Linked DNA regions of Homo sapiens: regions 1, 2, 3, 5 and 6 are each linked to region 4. Evidence: promoter capture Hi-C in 16 types of primary human blood cells and fetal thymus (Javierre and others, 2016). All regions are on one chromosome and are shown on one strand. Each heading gives the region's core, a stretch centred on a gene start or on the middle of the fragment in contact. The rest is flanking DNA. Distances are from core to core; before and after follow the strand shown. Region 1 overlaps DDX6 (DEAD-box helicase 6). Region 2 overlaps LOC105369519 (a long non-coding RNA gene). Region 3 holds the start of DDX6 (DEAD-box helicase 6). Region 4 holds the start of DPAGT1 (dolichyl-phosphate N-acetylglucosaminephosphotransferase 1). Region 5 overlaps USP2 (ubiquitin specific peptidase 2). Region 6 overlaps PHLDB1 (pleckstrin homology like domain family B member 1).

Region 1 (3,147 bases), core at 586-3,085, 330 kb before region 4:
CGGGGTGTTTCACCATGTTGGCCAGGCTGGTCTTGAACTCATGACCTCAGATGATCCACCGACCTCGGCCTCCCAAAGTGTTGGGATTACAGGCATGAGCCACTGTGTCTGGCCTGAATTTTTAATTTCTAAAACTAAGATACTAGGAACCAAATTCACAGTCACTGACATTTGTCCCTTCTATGCCTGGGCTAACGACAAAAACAAACAAACAAACAAAAAACAGCTTTAGCCCTTTAAAGCTGCTATTGGTAGAAATGACTAAATAAGCAGGATGACTTCCATCTCCCACGACAACACTCTTTCTACCTAGAGCTCCAATCACAGGATATAAATGGGTTCCATATGGTCAGAACAACACAGCTGCCAGAACAACTGTGAAAATATTGTTGTTGGCTGGGAACGATGGCTCATGTCTGTAATCCCAGCACTTTGGGAGGCTGAGGTAGGCAGATCACCTGAGGTCAGGAGTTCGAGACCAGCCTGGCCAACATGGTGAAACCCCATCTCTGTTAAAAATACAAAAATGGTCATGGTGCGCACCTGTAGTCCCAGCTACTTGGGAGCCTGAGGTAGGAGAACTGCTTGAGCCCAGGAGGAGGAGGTTGCAGTGGGCCAAGATTGCGCCACTGCACTCCAGCCTGGGCAATGGAGCAAGACTCAGTCTCACAAAAAAAAAAAAAAAGAGAGAGAAAAGAAAAGAAAATACTGTTGTCTTGTTCTTACAGCCAGCATTAAAGACTCTGCTTATTAAGGTAAAGCAAACAAAGAAGAAAACCTTGGCTTTAACCCTTTGGTCTTAAATTTCTTCCCTCATCACAGATAAGTGAACCATTATTTCCAGTTGTTCCAGAGGCTCCCATTACCCTGTCACCTCAGGTTTTCTCTTTTGTGGTTCTGTGGTGCCAGTAGTCTGTAGTTTTTAACAGGCTGCCTGCACACTACTCAGTTTTACAGTATTGAAAAAGTAAGATAGGTGGTCTCTGATGGTCTCATAACGACTTGCTGGGTCAGGTTCTTTAAAGTGTAAACCTTTTTTTCAATCAAGTGAGGCAGAACAGAATTAGACTAGAGGTATCCTAATCCCCCTTTTCAGTTCATCTTTTGACTGACTTGATTAAGGCCATTGACTTCTATTCCTTTGCCCTCTTTGACAGGGATTATACCCTACAAAAACTGTTCAAGGATAAAGCTTTAACAAAGTACATGTGATAGACTGTAAGTTAAGACACCCTGATATTTTGCCTTATATGATGGCCATTATGATTAACAGTCAGTGAATTCAGCACATCCACACTGCCTCTTACCAGTGTTTCTCAGGAAATAATGAAAAGCAAGAGAATTCAAGTCAAGTTCAAAAAGCTGTGAAATACAAGAGGAAATTATGAGGAACTGCCAGGGAGAAGGCAAAGGAGGAAGGAAACGAAAACTTTTTTTAAAACTTACTATGTGCTCAGCACAACTTTCAAGTTAGGTACTTTGTTTTACAACTGACAAAATGGATCCTAAACAGGATTAGTTTGCCCAAGGTCACAAAGCAAGAAATGCTTTAGCCAGTATTTGAACTTAGATCTGCACATAACATGTAGGCAAGAAGTTGGAGAAAATGGAACTCTCATACACTGCTAGTGGGAATGTACAGCTACGCTGGAAACCAGCCTTGCAGTTCCTCAAAAGGTTAAAAAGAGTTACCATATGAACTAGCAATTCTAGGTATACAGCGAAGAGAAATAAAAACATCTCCACACAAAAACCTGCACCTGAATTTTCATAGCAGCATTATCCTTAATAGCCAGTTCCTTCTATGTTTTTTTTTATAATAGTACAAACTTTATTCATAAATAAAACTTCATAAGGTTAAAGCAGGGTCAGTTCCTATTTTAAAAAGGGAACAGGGGAAGGCAGCCTGCTATTTTATTTAAAATCACAAGTTAGGTTTTTCAGACGGATGACAGTTGAGATCATTAAATCCCCTTCCTACTTCTCAGATTTTCACAAAATAGCACATTAAATCCTCAGTCCTTGGAAAACAACCCCAAATGTCTACCAACTGATGACTGGATAAATCAGAAGTAATAGAGCCATACAATAAAATATTATTCAGGAAAAAGGAATGGAATATTGATACAAGCTACAACACAGATGAACTCGGAAAACATTACGCTAAGTCAAAGAAGCCAGTCACAAAAAAAACACATACTATAGGATTCTATTTATATGACATGTCCAGACTAGGCAAAGCTAGAATGACAGAAAGTATACCAGTGGTTGTTTAGGGGTGTGGGAAAATGAGGTGTGACTGCTAAAAGGGTTTCTTTTGTGGGACTGATCAAAATGTTCTAAAATTTATTGTGGTAATGGTTGCAGAACTCTAAATGCACTAAAAAGCATTAAATTGTATACTTTTGATGTGTGATGTCATTTATATCTCAATAAAGCTATTACCCCCAAAAAACAAAACCCCAAAAAACCAACCCCACAAGCTTAGGGCTGACATCTGCCACCTTAGGTCTCCAAATTCACATTCACTGTAACGTTTAGATAATGACTGAAGAGTATTTGTTGTGTTTTGGTTACTCTAGTATCCCTTTACTAAGTAACACCCCAATTTCCTTCTAAGGAATTACATATGCCCTGGTCTCCCCTGTCCCAACAGACCAAGCCTCACCAATTTTCTAAGCCAAGTGGTAGACACATAGCCCACACTGGGCCAGCGGAATGTTGCCTCCTAAGAATCTAAATTGTTATAGTGCATCCATTACAGCTTCCTAAGTCCTTCAGAGCTATCTCAATTCTTAGTCATTTCCAAGTATGTTTCTCTAGCCTTCTCAATCTTGTGAATTCCCGTTATTTTTCCAATAAATTTCCTTTTGCTTAAGTTAGATCGAGTTGGTTTCTGATGCCTATAATTAAAGAATGGTTTATTTTCCAATCTCCTAGCATTGAGAGGCATTTTACAAAAGTGTGGTACCAACAAAAGCTCAACATCACCCAACTAGCTGCATTTACACTGACTGCTTCCTCTTATTTTCCAAACCTTAATTTCCAAGAGGGAAAAAAAACCTATGGTTAAAGGCCGGGCGCGGTGGCTCACGCCTGTAATCCCAACACTTTGGGAGGCCGAGGTGGGCAGACCATGAGGTCAGG
Region 2 (3,123 bases), core at 1-2,500, 400 kb before region 4:
TTTGTCTTCAGTGTTATTCGGTTTCTCTAAAATGTATTTAACATAGTCTTATTTATTCTGCTCCAGAATTGTTGTGCTGCTATACCTCCGCCTTCTTTTCCTCTTTTCTTTCTTTTTTAATTTTTATTTTTGTAGAGGCAGTGTCTCACTTTGTTGCCCAGGGCGGTCTTGAACTCCTGGGCTCAAGAGCTCCTCCTGCCCAAAGTGTTGAGATTATAGGGATAAGCCACCACTCCTGGCCCCCTCCTTTTTTTCCTGGAAATTTTTTTGGTGCTTATGATGTGCAGTAATAAAAATACGATTTTAAGTGTTGGGGATTAAATAGTGAACAAAAAAGAGAAAGTCACTATCCTCATGATAGTGATATTTTATTTTATTTTATTTACATTCACAGTGCTTGGTTCACAGCACATATGCTAAAACTGGAACAATACAGAGAAGATTAGCACGGCCCCAGCACAAAGATGATGTGCAAATTCATGAAGTGTTCCATATTAAAAAAATAAAATAAAAATAGCAATACATTTACATTTTATTTTATAGCGACAGGGTCTCACTATGTTTCCCAGGCTGGTTTTGAACTCCTGACTTCAAGCGATCCTCCCGCATGAGCCACCATGCCTGGCCTAAGCTTACATTTTAGTTAGAGAAAGAGCCTGGGAATGAAGCTAGCATGGAGAAGAGCAGAGCTGAGATTTAAAGGGAGCAGATCCTGAAGCCTGGTTGAAAGCTGCATCGTTTCCCACCTGAATTCAACCACATTCATTTTCAGTAACACGAGCAGTAACTGCTTCTTGTTGTTTAAGCCAATTTAAATATATTTCTATGTCAATTACAAATGAAAGGGTATTAACTGTTAGGTGCCCAGCCTCAGCCTAATCTAGATGTTCTTTCTCTGCAACTTTGTATCTTCACTTAATTAGTTTACTTGAAAATTAATTAAATTAGGCCTGGTGCAGTGGCTCATGCTTGTAATCCCAGCACTTTGGGAGGCCGCGGCGGGCGGATCATGAGGTCAGGAGATCCAGACCATCCTGGCTAACATGGTGAAAACACGTCTCTACTAAAAATACAAAAAATTAGCCCGGTGTGGTGGCATGCGCCTGTAGTCCCAGCTACTGGAGAGGCTGAGGCAGGAGAAGCACTTGAGCCCAGGAGGCAGAGGTTGTGGTGAGCCGAGATCTCGCCACTGCACTCCAGCCTGGCGACAGAGCAATACTCCATCTCAAAAAATAAATAAATAAAATAAATAAATAAAAAAAAACACTGACACAGTGGGGATGAAGTTTCAATGTAAATTGCAGAGAGGACAACATTCAAACCATGGTACCTAGTCATAGTATTTTACTCTTTTCTTATGCTTTTAATTCCTGAAGTATCTAGACTTTCTAATCCTATTTTATAATACCTTTGTAGTCCTTATATAACATCTGTGTTTTGGTATTTGTTTCAGGTTTTTTCCTAAGTATGTGTCAAGATCCCATTTTCCAAGTCAAAAATGGGATTTTGCTACACATTATTTCATAACCTGCTCTTTGTTTTTCACATGATAAGGAACTTAAAACAACACACATCTTTTTCTGAGGGCAGAAATTTGGGCCCAGCTCACCTAGGTTCTCCGCTTCAGAGCTTTACCAGGCTGCTGTCCGGGTGCTGGCTGGGGCTATGGTCTCATCTGAGGCTCAGCTGGTCTCATCTAAGGCTTAATATTGGCCCCCAAGCTCCCTCAGACTGTTGGCAGAATTCTTCTCCTTATGGTTGTAAGACTAGAACTGGGGTTCATGTTTTCTTGTTGGCTGTCAGCCAGGGATGGCCCTTAGCAACTAGAGACTACAGTAGTTCCTTGTTGAGTGGCCCTGTCACCACAGAGAAGCTTACTTCTTCAAAGCCAGTAATAGACGGAGAGTCTCTGACCCTCTGAGAGGGCCCAGACACTCTTTCAAAGACTTCCACCTGATTTAGTCAGGCCCACCCATGAAAATGCCCCCTTGACTTCAAAATCAACTGACTTAGGACCCTAATTATGTCTGCAAAACCCCCTCACCTTTTTCACAGTCTATTAGCTGGAAGTAAGTTGCAGGTCCTACCGGCGCTCCAGGGGAGGAGGTTACACAGGGTGTGAACACCAGGGAGTGGGACCACAGGGCCCATCCCTGGGTCTATTCATACCATGTTTACCTTTCCATGTCAGTATCTTTTCTTTTCTTGGTTTTTTTTTTTTTTTTTTTTTTTCAGATGGAGTCTCACTTTGCTGGCCCAGGCTGGAGTGCCGTGGCCCCATCCTGGCTCACTGCAACCTCTGCCTCCCAGGTTCAAGTGATTCTCCTGCCTCAGCCTCCTGAGTAGCTGGGACTACAGGCATGTACCACCACACCTGGCTAATTTTTGTATTTTTAATAGAGATGGGGTTTCGCCACGTTGGCCAGGCTGGTCTTGAACTCCTGACCTGCAGGTGATACTGCCCGCCTAGGCCTCCCAAAGTGCTGGGATTTACAGGCACGAGCCACCGTGCACGGCTGTTATTATGTTTTCTACCACCTTCTAATGTTAATGGCCTCACAGCATTCTACTATGTGGATGTGTCAACATTTATTTAATTATTTATCACTAAGCACTGAATAAACATAAACATTTTAGTTTATTCCTTTTTTTCTTACAGACAGCGCTGGGGAGAATGAACGCCTGAGTACTCATGTCTTTATGCACTGTAGTATTATTTCCTTACAACAGACTCCTGAACCTGGAACGGCAGTGTCAAAGGGTTCACAAAATGTTAGACTTCTGAAGCAAATCAGATGGCACCTTTTTTGAATAATGAAGAATCTTTACCCCTGGCATGAGGAGCTGAGGACAACTCCCACTCCACGATGTGAAGCCACAGAGTTTCGAGGTAGTGGTTAATGGTGGTTGTGATTTTTTTGTTTTTGTTTTTGAGACAGAGTCTCTGTCACCCAGGCTGGGAGTGCAGTGGCACAATCTTGGCTCACCACAACCTCTGCCTCCCAGGTTCAAGCGATTCTCCTGCCTCAGCCTCCTGAGTAGCTGGGACAGGTGCCCGCCACCATGCCTGGCTAATTTTTGTATCTTTAGTAGAGACGAGGTTTCACCATGTTTGCCAGGCTG
Region 3 (3,263 bases), core at 413-2,912, 310 kb before region 4:
CTCCTTGATTATGCCTTCCTTAAAAAAAAAATGAACAAGTTGCTCACAAGCAAATCCTGATTATCACATACACAAAGCTGTTTACTTCAGACTCTGACCTCTTAAGCAGATATGGTTAACAGCTACTTTCCTGTATTGACGGTTTTATATTATGATCAGCGATATCACGCAGTTCACAGAGACTTAGCTGTTTGCAGAGCACTAAGAGGATGAAAAGGGCAACCTCTAAAGACCGAACGATATCATCATTACTGTCCATCATGCACAGTAAGACCTCCTATATCCTTAAATCCAAAATGAGACTATGTGATAACTGCTCCCTTCTTAAACTGAAACCTGCACTGCAGCTTTTTCTCAGAGAAGGAAATATTCCTCCTACCCCTTCCCAATTTAGATTTGCAAGTTTTCTACATTTTCAAAAACAAAAAACAAAAAAACAAAAAACAAACAACAAGAAACGTAGACTAGTTGGGAGGAGCCCCTAGCGGAGTTAATTACAGCACTTCACAGATCGTAGTTAGCAATTGACAGTTTCACACCCAAAACAGTATCGTCATCGCCAACAAGAGCTTTTGTTTGCAAATGCAGCGCAGTTTTTCTAGCTTTGCCTGCAAGTTGGAGTGACTGGGTTTTATTCTGAAGGGAAATGGGGGCTGAGGAAGAGAAAGGAGAGAGATACGGGAAAGAGTCATTGACTAATGACTGGAACCCCGTAACTGAAAGGAAATTTCTTGTCCCCCCGCACCCCGCCCCACGCCCCAAACACACACACTTCTGACCATAAACACAAAAGGTTGGGGCTCTGCAATCTTATCTGCGCAATATGAGCCAGCAACCGCTCCATTAGTAGCAAACAATAGGGACTCCCCCAAGGAGGCCCCAAATGGACCCCCTAAACCAGAAATCCCCCTCCTTTCCTCCAAGAGTCGGGGGCTCCATAAATACCCTCTTGTTATTGACCCGCAAGGCCTACTGCAATCAAGCAGCGGCCGGTTTGCTTCTAAACCGAGCCCTCCAATACAGCATGTCCCTGCCGCCCCCTATAGGGCCGCCTCGTACCCTATAACCTCCACCATCATCCCCCTAAGTCCTTGCCGCCCCCTTCGGCCTCATATTCCCTCATCTTCGATAAAGCTACTCCGAGTACTTAGCCTGTTCCTCCTGCCGACCCTGCTGCGCACCACATTCCTATATTCGCCTCCTCTCAGGCGCTCCCACCCCACACAGCTGCCGACCGCCTTCCTCCCCAGGCCCGGCCAGGCCTTAGGCCTCCGCCCGAGAGTCCCCCAGAGCCGGCCCGGGGGGCTCCCCACAGCCCCCAAAGCACCGCTGACCTCGACCCCACCACCTCACCCCAAGCCTCGCGACTCGGGCCCGTGTCCTACCAACGAGGCCACTCCCGCTCGGCACCCTCGGTCCTTTATTGTTGACTCGAAGCTCCCAAAATGGCGGACGCTCCTTCCTCCTCGGAAACCTCCGCCCGCCCCCACCCAGCCCTCTCGCTACGGCCTCCTCTCGCCCCCGCCCCCGCCCCGCTCCGAGGGGCGCGCAGGCCAGCCGCCCGAGCCGCCGGCTCCCCCGGCTGTCCAGCCCTACCTCCTCCGCTGCCCGCTCTCGTGGCGCCGCCGAAGTCGCCGCCTGGCTGAGCTAACTCGGCTCCTCTGCCCCCTCCCTCGCTCGCCCGTTCGCCCGCCCGCCGCCTCCTCCCTCTTTCCCTGCCTCTCCGCATGGCGGCGACCGCGGCTCCTCCTCCACTCAAGATGGCGAAACCTCGGCCGCCGCGGCTATATTCGCCGCGGCGTCACTGCCTTCCTGGCCTGGTGGTGAGAGGAAGTCGGGCCGCGAAAGCTTCCTGAGGAGAAAATGGAGGGCCCTTCTCTCACACCGACGAGAAAAGTTCGAGGGGGAAATACGAGTTCCTTTCTGAAGGGACAGGACGGCTGCTTTTCCACAGCCGCGACGTGATTGAGAAATGGTGGCTGGCAAGGGTAGGCCTGCCTTCGCCCCTCCAAAGTAAAAATCGGGAGTTGAGACCAGAGGAACATCTCTTTATTACATGACTAAGGATATGTTTTGAAAACTGGCCCCCGGGCAGCTGCTCGGGGACAGGAAGCTGACCTGACTTCTCCAGCTGGCCGGGGAGGCTGATGCCGGGCCTAAGGGGCCGCGTCCGAGCCTCTCGGGGCGCGCCTCCATGCAGGAAGGCGCGGAACTAGCGACCCGGAGACGCCGGGCGCGCGTCTGAGTGTGGGGGCAGGAAGGGGGGCCGACCGGGCCCGGAGGCCGCACCAGGCAGGAGGGAGGACTCCAGAGAGTGCGCGGGGGGCGCTGCGCGGTGGGACGGGGCGAGCCTGTAGGGCGCGCCTGGCGGCGGGTAGGCTCCGGGCTTGAGGGTGCGCCTGGGGGCGCTGGTTGTGGGGGAAGGCACCGGGCTTGAGGGTGCACCTGGGCGGGGGAAGTCTTCGGGCATGAGGGCGCGCCTGCGGGTGGTATGGGGGGGTACACCGAGCTTGAGGGTGCGCCCGGGGGGCTCTCATGTGAAGGGTACCAGGCTTGAGGGCGCCCCTGCGGGGGGCGCAGAGGCACCGAGCTTGAGGGTGCGCCTCGGGGGTCTGCGGGGGGAAGGCACCGGACTTGAGCGTGCGCCGGGAGAGGACGGCGGGGGACCGGACTGTGAGGGCGTATCTTGGGGGACCTGTCTAGGAGGAACCGGGAGGTGAAGGCACAACTGGGGGTGAGGCGGGGGCAGGGGCCGGGCTGTGAGAGTGCGACTGAGGGGGGATTACTCCGGAGAGCACGGAGCTGGGGGCGTTGCGCAGGTGGAGTGGGGAGGCCTGGTGGAGAGGGTAGCAAACCGAGAGAGCGCACCGGGGTGGTGGGGGGAGAAGCTGGACTGTAAGGTGAAGAGTTAGTAGGGCGCAACCGTCTTCTCCTGCCCTCGAAGGGCAAGACTGAAGAAAGTAGGGGCGGAGGAGGCCGGGCCCTCCACTAAAGGGAGGGAAGCTAGTGAAGCGTCAGTTATAATAGAAATAGGAATTCAGTAAGGAAATGGAGAAGCTTAAGGCAAAGGGTGACTCTCCGGCCTGACCCTCACTATGAAGATATTTATGTATGTTCCCATAATACTTTTCAGATCCCAATGTCTGTGTTTATCCTTGACAGAAATAATAGAACTGCTGTCTTCTTCCAAGTTAAACAAAACTTTGGAGCTAAAAGCTAGCTAGGTCAAGAGAAACAAAATCTAATCCTCACCCAATTGAGAG
Region 4 (3,414 bases), core at 1-2,500:
AGGGGCAGCAGTGGTAGGACTACCTACCCAAGTCCAGATGCAGGCCAAGTATCGGGCGGAAGGGCTTGGGCACCACAATGGTCGTGTTGCCAAAGTTGGTGAAATAGACCATGAGGAGAGGTAGTGAGGCAGCTGTAGGTAGCAGCAGCTTATGGCGCCAGCGCAGATTCAGTACATCATCCGCAAAGCCCAGGAAGATCATGCAGCAGATGGCAAGGAGGGCACCTATCAGGGCCACAAACTGGGGGAGGCTCGGGCAGGTCCATGACTCAAGCCTGCTCCCATTCCACCTTTTAAGAATTCCTGTCTTTTCTGATAATTTCTTAGCCCCTCCCCACAAGCCCAAATAACCCCAGTTCTCTCAGGTACCTCCCAGGTCCCAGCCACAGGCAATCACCCCCACGAACCCACTTACTTCATGGTGGGGGAATGCCTTACACTGCTCCTTCACAAAGCAGTTCAGGAAGGGGAAAGGGATGAAGCAGAAGAGGATGATAAGGAAAACAGCACCGCTGATCACTCCCTGGGATTCTGGGCTGTGGCCCAGCAGCAAGGGGGCGAGGGGGAAGAGGAAAGGGGGCGTGGTCACTCACTAGTGCAGGTGTTACAGTAACCCAAAGTGGTCTTCTCATTCCCGGTTTTTTATTCTGGTAAGTGGTGAGGGGGGCGGAGGGAGGAAAGCACCACTGCCAGAGTCCCAGATATACCCAAGGGTCCCTACCCATCCTTTCCCCAATGCGAGTAAGTTCTGCTCATCACCTCTCCGAGTTCCAGGCTGCCTGGGTTAGTTCTGAGTCTTCACGTGTGGTCAAGCACCCCGGTTCCCGCCCCTGCCCTAGCCACTCCTTCCTTAGCCCTTGCCCCCTGCCCGGACCCGTGTGCCGCTGCTCACATCTGCTGTCGGCTGGTTTTGTTGAGGTCCTGACCACAGAGGCGCGCAGCAATGAAGTGGCCCCGGAAGGCCGGGATGAGGGTGACTGTGGCCACAAATCCCAGCAGCGAGACGATCAAATTGATCAGCAGCGGCATGGGCAATTCCGAGAAGGCCCACATGGTGACCGGTCAGGGGCCCGGCTCCGCCGCCTCTTCAGGTAACGGGCAAGCTGAGCAGCAGTCCTGAGGCCTCAGCAGTATGGAGTGGCCGCTCCCCACAGGCAGGCTCTTCCCACACCAATCTGAGCAAAACCCAGCAACTCTGACTTGAGCCGCCGTCGGGACACCGGGGAACCTCTCTAAGGCAACCTATGTTCTGCCCCGCTGCACCCGCCTATCTACTGTTTCCGCCCGGATCTTGTTCGCTGAACAACCATTACTGCGGAAGGCGGCGGCCGCCATTTTTAATATGGGCATTAGAGGGTGGGGATGGAAGTGGAAGAGAAGTGTGATTCCAAATTTCATCCTATGTTCAAGAGTAGAATCACCGAGAGAGTACTGGAAACGCAATTAAAGAAAGGCAGCCAAGAACGGATACTTCCCTAACATTATGTTAAAGATGTACTACCCAGAGCGGAAATGCCAATTGCCCGGTTCCAAGATGAATGCCTCCTTGTACCACGTGTCTGACACCGCTCACATTCCGGTTCCACGTCAGTTTTAGCTCCGTCCGCCTCCATAGGTCAAGCTTAAAGGGCCCGTACCTCTCCCTTAATCTGGGATGCCTCCGGCTCCAGGAAGATGGCTATTGAAAGGCAGGGGGTGGGGAGGAGGGACGAGGGTGTGGAGACGCGCCTGTTTCTTGCAGGAAACCTGTTGCCAACATAGTCGGAAGCCAAGGTAAACACAACTCAGTTCCCGGAAACAAAGCTACGATTTGGAAGGATGGTGTAAATTCTAAAGCGTAGATCCTTGAAAAGCCCCTCCCACTCTGTTTTTCTTGTCCTCGATTCTGGTATTTTTTTCTCAGCATCCCACCCACCTTCTGCCCCAGCTGTAGCAGTTAGTTGCCCGGCAACCCAGCGCAGCACTTCACTGAGGGATTGGGAGTACCCTCAGGTCTTGGATTTAACTCGAGACTTCAGCTTGGCCGTGGATCACTGCATTGTACCTAGCTCCCACAAGGAGGAGATGGAGATTTCCAGGCTGAGGCTCTGGAAAGAGCTGAGGAGGGAGAGGAATCAGACCCACAACTGATTTCCTGTGAGTCTGAGGAACTCCCAGTCAGGTTTCTTCCTGTAGGTCACTGTGCATTTTGCTTGGCCTCCTGCAGGTTGCTGTGCATTTTGCTTGGCCTGTTCCCCTGCAAACAACAATTCACCAGCTTTTTTTTTTTTTTTTTTTTTTTTTTTTTGAGACAGAGTTTCGCTCTTGTTGCCCAGGCTGGAGTGCAATGGCGCGATCTCGGCTCACCGAAACCTCCACCTCCCAGGTTCAAGAGATTCTCCTGCCTCAGCCTCCCGAGTAGCTGGGATTACAGGCAGTAGCTGGAATTACAGGCATGCGCCACCACGCCCGGCTAATTTTGTATTTTTAGTAGAGACGGGATTTCCCTATGTTGGTCAGGCTGGTTTGGGACTCCCGACCTCAGGTGATCTGCCCGCCTTGGCCTCCCAAAATGCTGGGAGTACAGGCGTGAGCCACCACGCCCAGCCAGTTCACCAGCATCTTTATTACCTTTCATTCCCCGACAGGCTCTTAGGCGGCAAATGATTTCCATTTGTCAGAGAGGAAGTCACCACCAGTGAGTTAGGGAAAGGACTCCAATAGCCTAGCGCTTTGTCCACTCTTCCCTCTATGGCATGTTCCAGGAGTCAGGGTCATGTTGACCGTTTTTAAGCCGAAGATAGTTTCTTCTTTCCCTCAAAATCAGATGTGAGGCCGGGCGCAGTGGCTAACGTCTGTAATCCCAGCACTTTGGTAGGCGAAGGTGGGTGGCTCACTTGAGGTCAGGAGTTCGAGACCAGCCTGGCCAACACGGTGAAACCCCGTCTCTACTGAAAATACAAAAATTAGCCGGGTGTGGTGGCACATGCCTGTAATCTCAGCTACTCAGGAGGCTGAGGCAGGAGGATCGCTTGAACCTGGGATGAGGAGGTTGCAGTGAGCCGCGATCATGCCACTGCATCCCAGCCTGGGCAACAGAGGGGAAACTGTCTCAAAACAAACAAACAAACAAACTAAATCAGATGTGAAATGGCTTTTCTACTTGAAAATGGCTCTAATTAACAACAACAAAAACCCAGATATGTATAAAATACATAAATTTTCGTAATTTACTTGCTAGTATTCCACCAGATTTTCAGTACTTATCCCACTGCTATTATTTTTCTGTGTGTGTTGTGTGTATGCACGTGTGCCCCTTTTAAACTAGAAACTCCCGGGAGGCAAGTGTTTTCTCTTCCACAGGGTGTCCCCATGGGGCTAGGAACACAGACATCTGTGTACAAGGAAGGCATCATCACACATAATGAGGCTGAG
Region 5 (3,535 bases), core at 790-3,289, 270 kb after region 4:
GGAGCCAGGGTTGTCCCTTCTGGAGAGTTGGAGGGCGGCAGACTCCCAGGAGGGTTGGGCCATGCCTGTGTGGGGAGGAGGCAGATTCCCAGTGGAATCTGATCCCCAGTAAAGGGGAATACTGCTGTCATGATTGGGGCTGAGGGTGGGTCTGTAGTTTAGTCTGCGCTGAGGTTTTCCATCTCAGCATGCCTAGAGATCACCCAAAGAGCTTGTGGAAAGAGCAGCTTCCCAGGCCCCATCCCGAGAGAGTTTGCTTCAGTGGGTTTGGATGAATCGTTAAGCCCTGCAGTGACTCTGACACAGGCAGTCTGCAGACCCCACTTTAAGGAGCACTGCTGACCATGAAACAACCCTTCTCTTCTGAGCAAGGGGAGGGAGCCCCGCAGAGGCTTCTAGGACCCGAGCCCCTCCGAGGAGAGCCATATTCTAATTGCCCTGGGGTTGAACAGCACCAGCCGAGTCCAAGTGAGTCCTGCTCCACTCCAAGCCCAGCACGCAGCACCCTGAGAGCTGATACTTCCCCACCATGCCAGCTCTGTTGTGACACATCTCTCTTCTCCACTCCTTTCTACAGTGGATCCAGCCCTGCCTTGTCAAGTTCTGAATGTTCTGGGAGGCACCAGCGTTTCTATCTCCTGTGCCACTTCACAGATGGCACAACAAAGCCAAGACTCCCTAAGTCATATTATCAAAGTTGCTCTCTCAAGACCTTTAGTTATGCAAGCTTCAAGGTCCTGCCCCTATTCCTGAACCCCTGCTGCATTTGTCTGGATCAGCCCTCCAAGCAGTATTTCTTGCTGTGGCATGCTGTTGTTTTCAAAATGTATTTGTCCTAGGAGTAGGGAGGGGTACATAAGGTAATGGAGGAGACACAGCATCCAGCCCTTCTGCCCATATGCTTGCCTGTCCATCTGTCCACCCGCCATCTACCCGTGTATCCACCCACCCACCACCCACACATCCATCCATCCATTCATCCCTGCAATCAGCAGGTCAGCCCCCATTGTGGGAGGCACGTGGCAGGGGATCTAGAGATAGGATTTCTTTTTCCTCCTCTGAGAGCTTGCCACCTAATGGGCACACTAATAACTACAGAAAAGGCAGATGTCGTCAGTGCCCCAAGAGAGGCGTGTGCGGGCATTAGTTGGCGAGCGAGCCCATGCCAGCCCTTGGTCAGTCTCCAGCAGAGCCTCTTCCCTCATTCCAGCTGAGGCAGGGCTGGAATAGAGGTATTGGATTGTCTCAAGCCCTAGATAAAAATTTCTCCCCTACTTTCTCCAAAGCCAGATGATAAGCATTGCTGTCTGATACCCTGGTCCTGAGTATGCCAGTGTCACTCAGAGGAGAGTCCCTCTTCCCCTGATGTCTTATGTCCAAATGTAAAGCCAGGCCTTGGGGCTAGGGAATAAAGCCTGCACAAGAGGGGAGATGCAACCACAGCAAGGAGGCCCTCCTGCCACAGGGTGCACTGGTGGTCTGGGCCCCCCCGCATCCAGCCCAGGTTGGGGCAAGGCCTGCAGGAGACACTGGCATGTCACATAGAAAAGGAGAAGGTGAGAAGAGTGGTTCATTGGGCGCAGCAGAGCATTCCTGAGAACACTACTGGACTATCCTCGAGTGCGCGGGCCCTGAGTGGGCTTTCTAGGCAGAGTGGGAAGGCCCCTCCCCTCGGCACGGAGCCCCAGGGGCACCAGATGTGCCAGGATGACTTCTCTTGTTTGTCTCCACCAGGAGCAGCCTGTCAGTCATCAGTCAGGTTGGGAGTCGAGCCCTCAGCCTGGCTGTTCTCCATCAGTGGCTGCCTCCCCAGCCTATCCCCGGTCCCCAAGGGTAAACTCACCATGCCGTCTCTTCCCGGGGAGCTGGAGCGGCTGGGCCCAGGGGCCTGACCCTTTCCCGTCTCCCACAGCGTGTAGCGGCCAATGGGTCGGTAGGTTGGGCTGATGATTTCAGGGACTCGTGAGGGAGGGGCCTGGGAGGGCACCTGAGATGCACTGCCCTTGCGACCATAGTTCTCCAGGTAGTCGACCAGGTATTCAGGGCAGCTGGCTGTCTGGTAGAGCCCCTGCAGGGTGCAGAGCTCCTTGCGCGTCCGGGCCAGCATGGGGCTGCGGCCCAGGTTCCTGGGGTCTATCCGGTAGCTATCTGAGGTCCGGAGGCTGGAGAAATCCCGGGCCAGGTCTGATTGGCTGTCCAGCTTCTGGGTTAGGGTCACCCCCTGGTCATAGGCATTGATGGGCAGGTAGCTGAGGCAGTTGTTGGTCACTCCATAAGGGAATCCGCTGCCCCCGCTGAGGCCACTGCCTAAAGGCCGCTCAGTACCCCGGGTCTGGCTCTCTGCCCGCTTACCACCCCCAGTGATGTCGGGTCTCAGCAGGGGGCGGCCCCGGTCATAGTCCAGGAGGGAGGAGGGGCCATAGGTACGGGGACGGGTGAGGAAGCTGCTGGTGGGGACCGGCTTGAAACCAAGTTTCTCCTTCTCCAGTAAGGAGGCAGCCAGATTGGCCCCATAGGAGGACGGGGTGTAGGCACCATAGCCCGACTTGGCATAGTGGGCATCTGTGTAGCGGGCCGATTCTGTGTAGCGCTTCAGGGTGGAGGAGAGCTGGGACATCCTTCAGGGTGGCACTCAGTGGGGACTGGGAGCCTCATGGGCTGAAAGACAAGGAGTGTAGTTGTCAGAGGGCCCTGCCAGGTGTCGGGCTCCCACAGACCTGCTCCCCATCCTCAGCTGGGCCAGAACCTCAGAGCTCCCAGTCCATTTCCACAAGAGGCAGGCTGGCTGCTGAGAAGCACACATGCACGCAGGTGTGCACAGGAGCTTGCTTGCACCTGTGTGTTCACACCTCGGTGAGAGTGCGAGGGATGAGGTGGCTTTTATATGCCACACAGGAAGTCAGCGCATCCTGGCCATTCAAAGACTCAAACACGCAAGCAGGGGCTATCTGACCTCCACAGCCCACCAAGCCGTGCAGTCTTCCAGGTCAAATCCCATTGCCTCAGCATCTGCAGAAACTCTTGAGCTGGGGGAATGCCACTGACCCCTGGGTTGAGAATGCTGGATATTTCAGGAGTTAAGACCACATCTGTCCCTTCTGACTTATGTGATGAGCAGGTGTCTTTTTGGAATCCTAGACTGTCTGTGCTGGAATGACCTGAAGATCATTTGGTCAGATCCCCTGTGAGGCCAAGGAGGCTCAGGGGAGGAAGTAATGGGGTGTGGGTGGGCAGGGGAGGCCGTGAGTGAGCATGCAACAATGAGGGGCCAGAACGTGGTCTCCAGACCCTTTCCCCAGACACCAGCACCTGCTGCATGGTCCCACAGTGAGGGACACTCACTTCACTGAGCTAAGCTTCTGTTCTAAGTGGAGTTAGGGCCCTGTGGCCTCCTAAGAGTTCCTCTACCAACACAGGCTTCCTCTACAAACACAGATCTCAAATTGGTCCTGGCGATGCTTGTGCAAAGGGGGCCCCCTACAGTCCCAAATCTTGCACTGCAGGTGGCATTCCCAGTCCTTCCCTGCTCCAGTCC
Region 6 (3,306 bases), core at 504-3,003, 490 kb before region 4:
GCTGTGAGGCAAGAGAGATATAATAGGGATGGGATCAGCTCTTCTACCCCCTTGTGGTCCCAGCCCAAGGATGAAAGGAGCAATTCTGTTCCTCTCTGCCCTTCCCCAGGTCCCAAGCCTATTAACAGCTCAGTCTTTATCTGAATCAGGTTAATTGGTTCACCCAGAAACTACCCATCGAAAGTCCGAAAGCAGTTTACAGATTGACCCTGGGCTGTATCACTCTCCTTGATCCATGCCTCTATCTTCCCTGTACTTGAGCTTAGCAGGGGCAAGCAATGGCCACGTGGATAGCCATGGACAAGTCTGCAGGGAGCTTGATTGGCCTTCCTCTACAGTACCCCTGCTGCTTATCCAATGCCACCCCCACCCCCCACCCCTTTCTCCTTGCTTCTGTTTTAATAGACAAAAGGCACAGTTAAGCCAAGACTTGCGATAAATCCAGTGGGATGAGTTAGTGGCCTAGATTCAGATCTAATTACAATTTAGTGGAATCATGCTCTGTGTAAGATTTTGTGCTAAGCCTTTCAGCACCCTCAGAGCCCTTCGGAGAGGGGCGAGGGCTGGAGAGAGTGCTGGTGTGACTGGTTTAGGGTGGTAAGGTGCTGAATCTAATGATGCTTGTCCTCCACCCGTACTACCTACAGAAAGGACCCTTGGACCTGATCGAGACAGGCAAAGGGCTGAAAGTGCAAACGGACAAACCCCACCTGGTGAGCCTGGGCAGTGGGCGACTCAGCACAGCCATCACCCTCCTGCCGCTGGAGGAAGGTAAGTGTGAACAGGGCATCTCACTCACCACCCCTCTATCCTTATAGGCATTCCTGCCCTGGAGGCCCACCTCCTGCATGTGTTGGGGCCCTTCTACTGTCTGCTGGTGCTCGCCTCCCCACACCACCAGCTTGCTTCCCTTGTCTCTGCCTCCCCAGACTGCCTGCCTTCCTTGGTAGATGATCTGGTTCCACGACTGGGCTTAAAGATCAGCTTAGAAACAAGGAGGAGAGGCCAGGTGTGGTGGCTCACGCCTGTTATCCCAGCACTTTGGGAGGCTGAGGCAGGCGGATCACGAGGTCAGGAGTTCTAGACCAGCCTGGCCAATATGGTGAAACCCCATCTCCACTACAAATACAAAAATTAGCCAGGCGTGGTGGCACGGGCCTGTAGTCCCAGCTACTCAGGAGGCTGAGGCAGAAGAATCGCTTGAACCCAGGAGACAGAGGTTGCAGTGAGCCGAGATCGTGCCACTGCACTCCAGCCTGGGCAACAGAGCGAGACTCTATCTCAAAAAAAAAAAAAAAAAAAAAAAAGAAGAAGAAAAGAAACCATGAAGAAAGCACTGAGAGAAACAGGAGAACACATTGCTCTTAGCAACCAATGTGGCCAAGAAGAAAAAGGGCCCCGCTCCAGGGCATTGTCTTGCATGGGAGGGTATACCATAGATGGAGAATGGAGAGATGGGAGTCAGGGCAAGATCTCCCAAGATGAGGCCCTGGCACAGCCCCCTTCACCTTTCAGCTTCTGCCCGCCCTCTCTACTCTCCTGGCTGCACTTGTTGCCTGGGTGATACTACATTCTCCACATTCTCCAAATACCAGTCCCAGGGGCTCTGTCAGCGGGAGGGGCTGTTCTTGCTGCAGTTAGGGGAGAGCCTGCACTGAAGAGAGAGGTTGCACTGAAGAGAGAGGTTAGCAAGGGAGACGAAGTGTTGCAGGTAGCAGAAGCGGGGGAGAGAAGAAGGAGAGAAAGGGAGATTTAGAAGAAATGAGGAGTAGGATGAAGGGGAAAAAGGATAAAGGACAATAGGGAGAGGCAGTTGGGGGAATAAGGGAAGATCTGCAGAAAAGCAGTCTTCCTTCTCCATCTGTGGAGTCTAGGTCCTACTGTGTGCTGTCTGGGTCTTCCCATCTCTGGGCCTCCCATTCTCAGGCAGAGTTTTCTCTGTTTGAGAACAGCGTCCATCACTTACTGTATAGACCAGGCTCAGGGGCCTAGTAGGGGTGGCCAGTGGTGGGCAGAGATTCTCCCTGGAGTAGGAGGTGGAAATATGTTTCCACTGTGGCCCTCCTTGCCCTGTCACTGCCTCCTCAGCCTGGACAACCCCTCTGATTCAGTTTGCCTCTTGTCTCCAGGGAGGACGGTGATTGGCTCTGCAGCCAGAGACATCTCACTACAGGGCCCAGGCCTGGCTCCAGAGCACTGCTACATCGAGAACCTGCGGGGCACCCTCACCCTCTACCCCTGTGGCAATGCCTGCACTATTGATGGGCTCCCTGTCCGGCAGCCTACCCGGCTCACTCAGGGTAAGGCTGGACACCTCCAGATGGAGGGGGCCTCTGTTTAAAGGCTTGTGTGTATTAGGCACAGGGGAGGCTGGCTGTGGTGGTTGCCATGGTAACTGCCTGAGTGACCATACTGGGAATGGAGTACTCAGGTGCATCTGGATGTGCCTAAACAACATCCCAAACCCTTTCAGCATCCAGACATGTTTTCAACCTGCTTTTCTTCTCTGGTCACCCCCAACCTGTCTCCACATACTATGGGGAGAGAAGAGGTTCTGATTCCCGCCATCAGAGGGCCTGGGGCATGATGGCGTTGTTAATGGTTGTTGGGGAAGAGCAATTGGAGCAGCAGTGAGAGGGTATCAATGGCATTGTTCCATGATGCCAAGAGGAAGTTGTTTTGAGAAGCTGGAGAGGAGGACAATACTTCCTGATGGGGATGGGGCAAGGGTAAATCTCAGGACATGCCTGCTCCTGTTACAAGACTGCTGACAGTAACTTTTGGGTCACGAATATAACCCAAAGCAATAGGCCATTCTGTTGTGTAAGGTAGCTCTAAAAACTAGGCCCCTGGCTAGGCATGGTGGCTCACGCCTACAATCCCAGCACTTTGGTAGGCCGAGGTGGGTGGATCACTTGAGGACAGGAGTTCGAGATCAGCCTGGACAACATGGTGAAACCCTGTCTCTACCCAAAATACAAAAATTAGCCACACGTGGTGGCACACGCCTGTAGTCCTAGCTACTCGGGAAGCTGAGATAGGAGAATCGCTTGAACCTGGGAGGCAGAGGTTGTAGTGAGCTGAGATGGCACCATTGCACTCCAGCCTGGGCAACAGAGCAAGACTCCGTCTCAAAAAATAAATAAATAAAAAATAAAAATAAATAAAAACTAGGCCCATAATTACTATGGTTAGCAGGCAGGTAAGCGGTTGGCCCAGGTAGCACTTTGACAGACCAGGTGTGCTCACCCTGGAAACAGGGTTCTGGGCATCAGTTCATACAGTGAGTTGTCAGATTAGGAGAAT

Evidence for each region. Contacts are between HindIII fragments. The CHiCAGO score rates a contact against its expected background, and 5 or more counts as called.
Region 1: a contact is called between a fragment that was not itself captured here and the fragment with the promoter of DPAGT1 in region 4, in 1 of 17 cell types (erythroblasts). The highest score is 5.1, in erythroblasts.
Region 2: a fragment that was not itself captured here is called in contact with the fragment with the promoter of DPAGT1 in region 4 in 6 of 17 cell types (M1 macrophages, total CD8 T cells, M2 macrophages and 3 more); the score reaches 6.6 in M1 macrophages.
Region 3: the fragment with the promoter of DDX6 here is called in contact with the fragment with the promoter of DPAGT1 in region 4 in 8 of 17 cell types (fetal thymus, naive CD4 T cells, non-activated CD4 T cells and 5 more); the score reaches 8.3 in fetal thymus.
Region 5: a contact is called between a fragment that was not itself captured here and the fragment with the promoter of DPAGT1 in region 4, in 1 of 17 cell types (M0 macrophages). The highest score is 5.0, in M0 macrophages.
Region 6: a contact is called between a fragment that was not itself captured here and the fragment with the promoter of DPAGT1 in region 4, in 1 of 17 cell types (total CD8 T cells). The highest score is 5.1, in total CD8 T cells.

The regions. Positions count from the first base shown.
Region 1 is chr11:118,770,214-118,773,360 of GRCh38, forward strand. The region is part of intron 4 of DDX6 (DEAD-box helicase 6); the gene reads right to left. Among named protein-coding and RNA genes, the nearest start is that of DDX6, 19 kb to the right of the region's middle. The HindIII fragment of the contact is 1,291 bases long and covers 1,191-2,481 here.
Region 2 is chr11:118,701,949-118,705,071 of GRCh38, forward strand. It overlaps LOC105369519 (a long non-coding RNA gene), which reads left to right. Exons shown (of 4, transcript XR_007062909.1): 3 at 2,660-2,890. It also overlaps the pseudogene RNU6-376P. Among named protein-coding and RNA genes, the nearest start is that of TREH, 24 kb to the left of the region's middle. RefSeq lists an enhancer at 2,766-3,123. The HindIII fragment of the contact is 1,242 bases long and covers 630-1,871 here.
Region 3 is chr11:118,789,502-118,792,764 of GRCh38, forward strand. DDX6 (DEAD-box helicase 6) reads right to left here and starts at 1,663. Exons shown (of 14, transcript NM_004397.6): 1 at 1,597-1,663. RefSeq lists enhancers at 263-820, 279-458, 1,769-1,878, 2,495-3,050 and silencers at 659-738, 1,369-1,698, 2,149-2,438. The HindIII fragment of the contact is 4,863 bases long and covers 1-1,846 here.
Region 4 is chr11:119,100,603-119,104,016 of GRCh38, forward strand. It overlaps DPAGT1 (dolichyl-phosphate N-acetylglucosaminephosphotransferase 1), which reads right to left and starts at 1,251. Exons shown (of 9, transcript NM_001382.4): 1 at 893-1,251; 2 at 416-536; 3 at 28-241. The coding sequence starts at 1,053. It also overlaps a transcript of C2CD2L not described here. RefSeq lists enhancers at 379-1,092, 904-2,103, 1,286-1,595, 1,807-2,519. The HindIII fragment of the contact is 9,998 bases long and covers 1-1,619 here.
Region 5 is chr11:119,370,864-119,374,398 of GRCh38, forward strand. It overlaps USP2 (ubiquitin specific peptidase 2), which reads right to left. Exons shown (of 13, transcript NM_004205.5): 2 at 1,844-2,658. The coding sequence starts at 2,617. Among named protein-coding and RNA genes, the nearest start is that of USP2, 9.1 kb to the right of the region's middle. RefSeq lists an enhancer at 2,097-2,597. The HindIII fragment of the contact is 2,629 bases long and covers 726-3,354 here.
Region 6 is chr11:118,613,912-118,617,217 of GRCh38, forward strand. It overlaps PHLDB1 (pleckstrin homology like domain family B member 1), which reads left to right. Exons shown (of 23, transcript NM_001144758.3): 3 at 648-771; 4 at 2,130-2,300. Among named protein-coding and RNA genes, the nearest start is that of PHLDB1, 8.0 kb to the left of the region's middle. RefSeq lists enhancers at 1,540-2,057, 2,058-2,574. The HindIII fragment of the contact is 5,173 bases long and covers 1-3,306 here.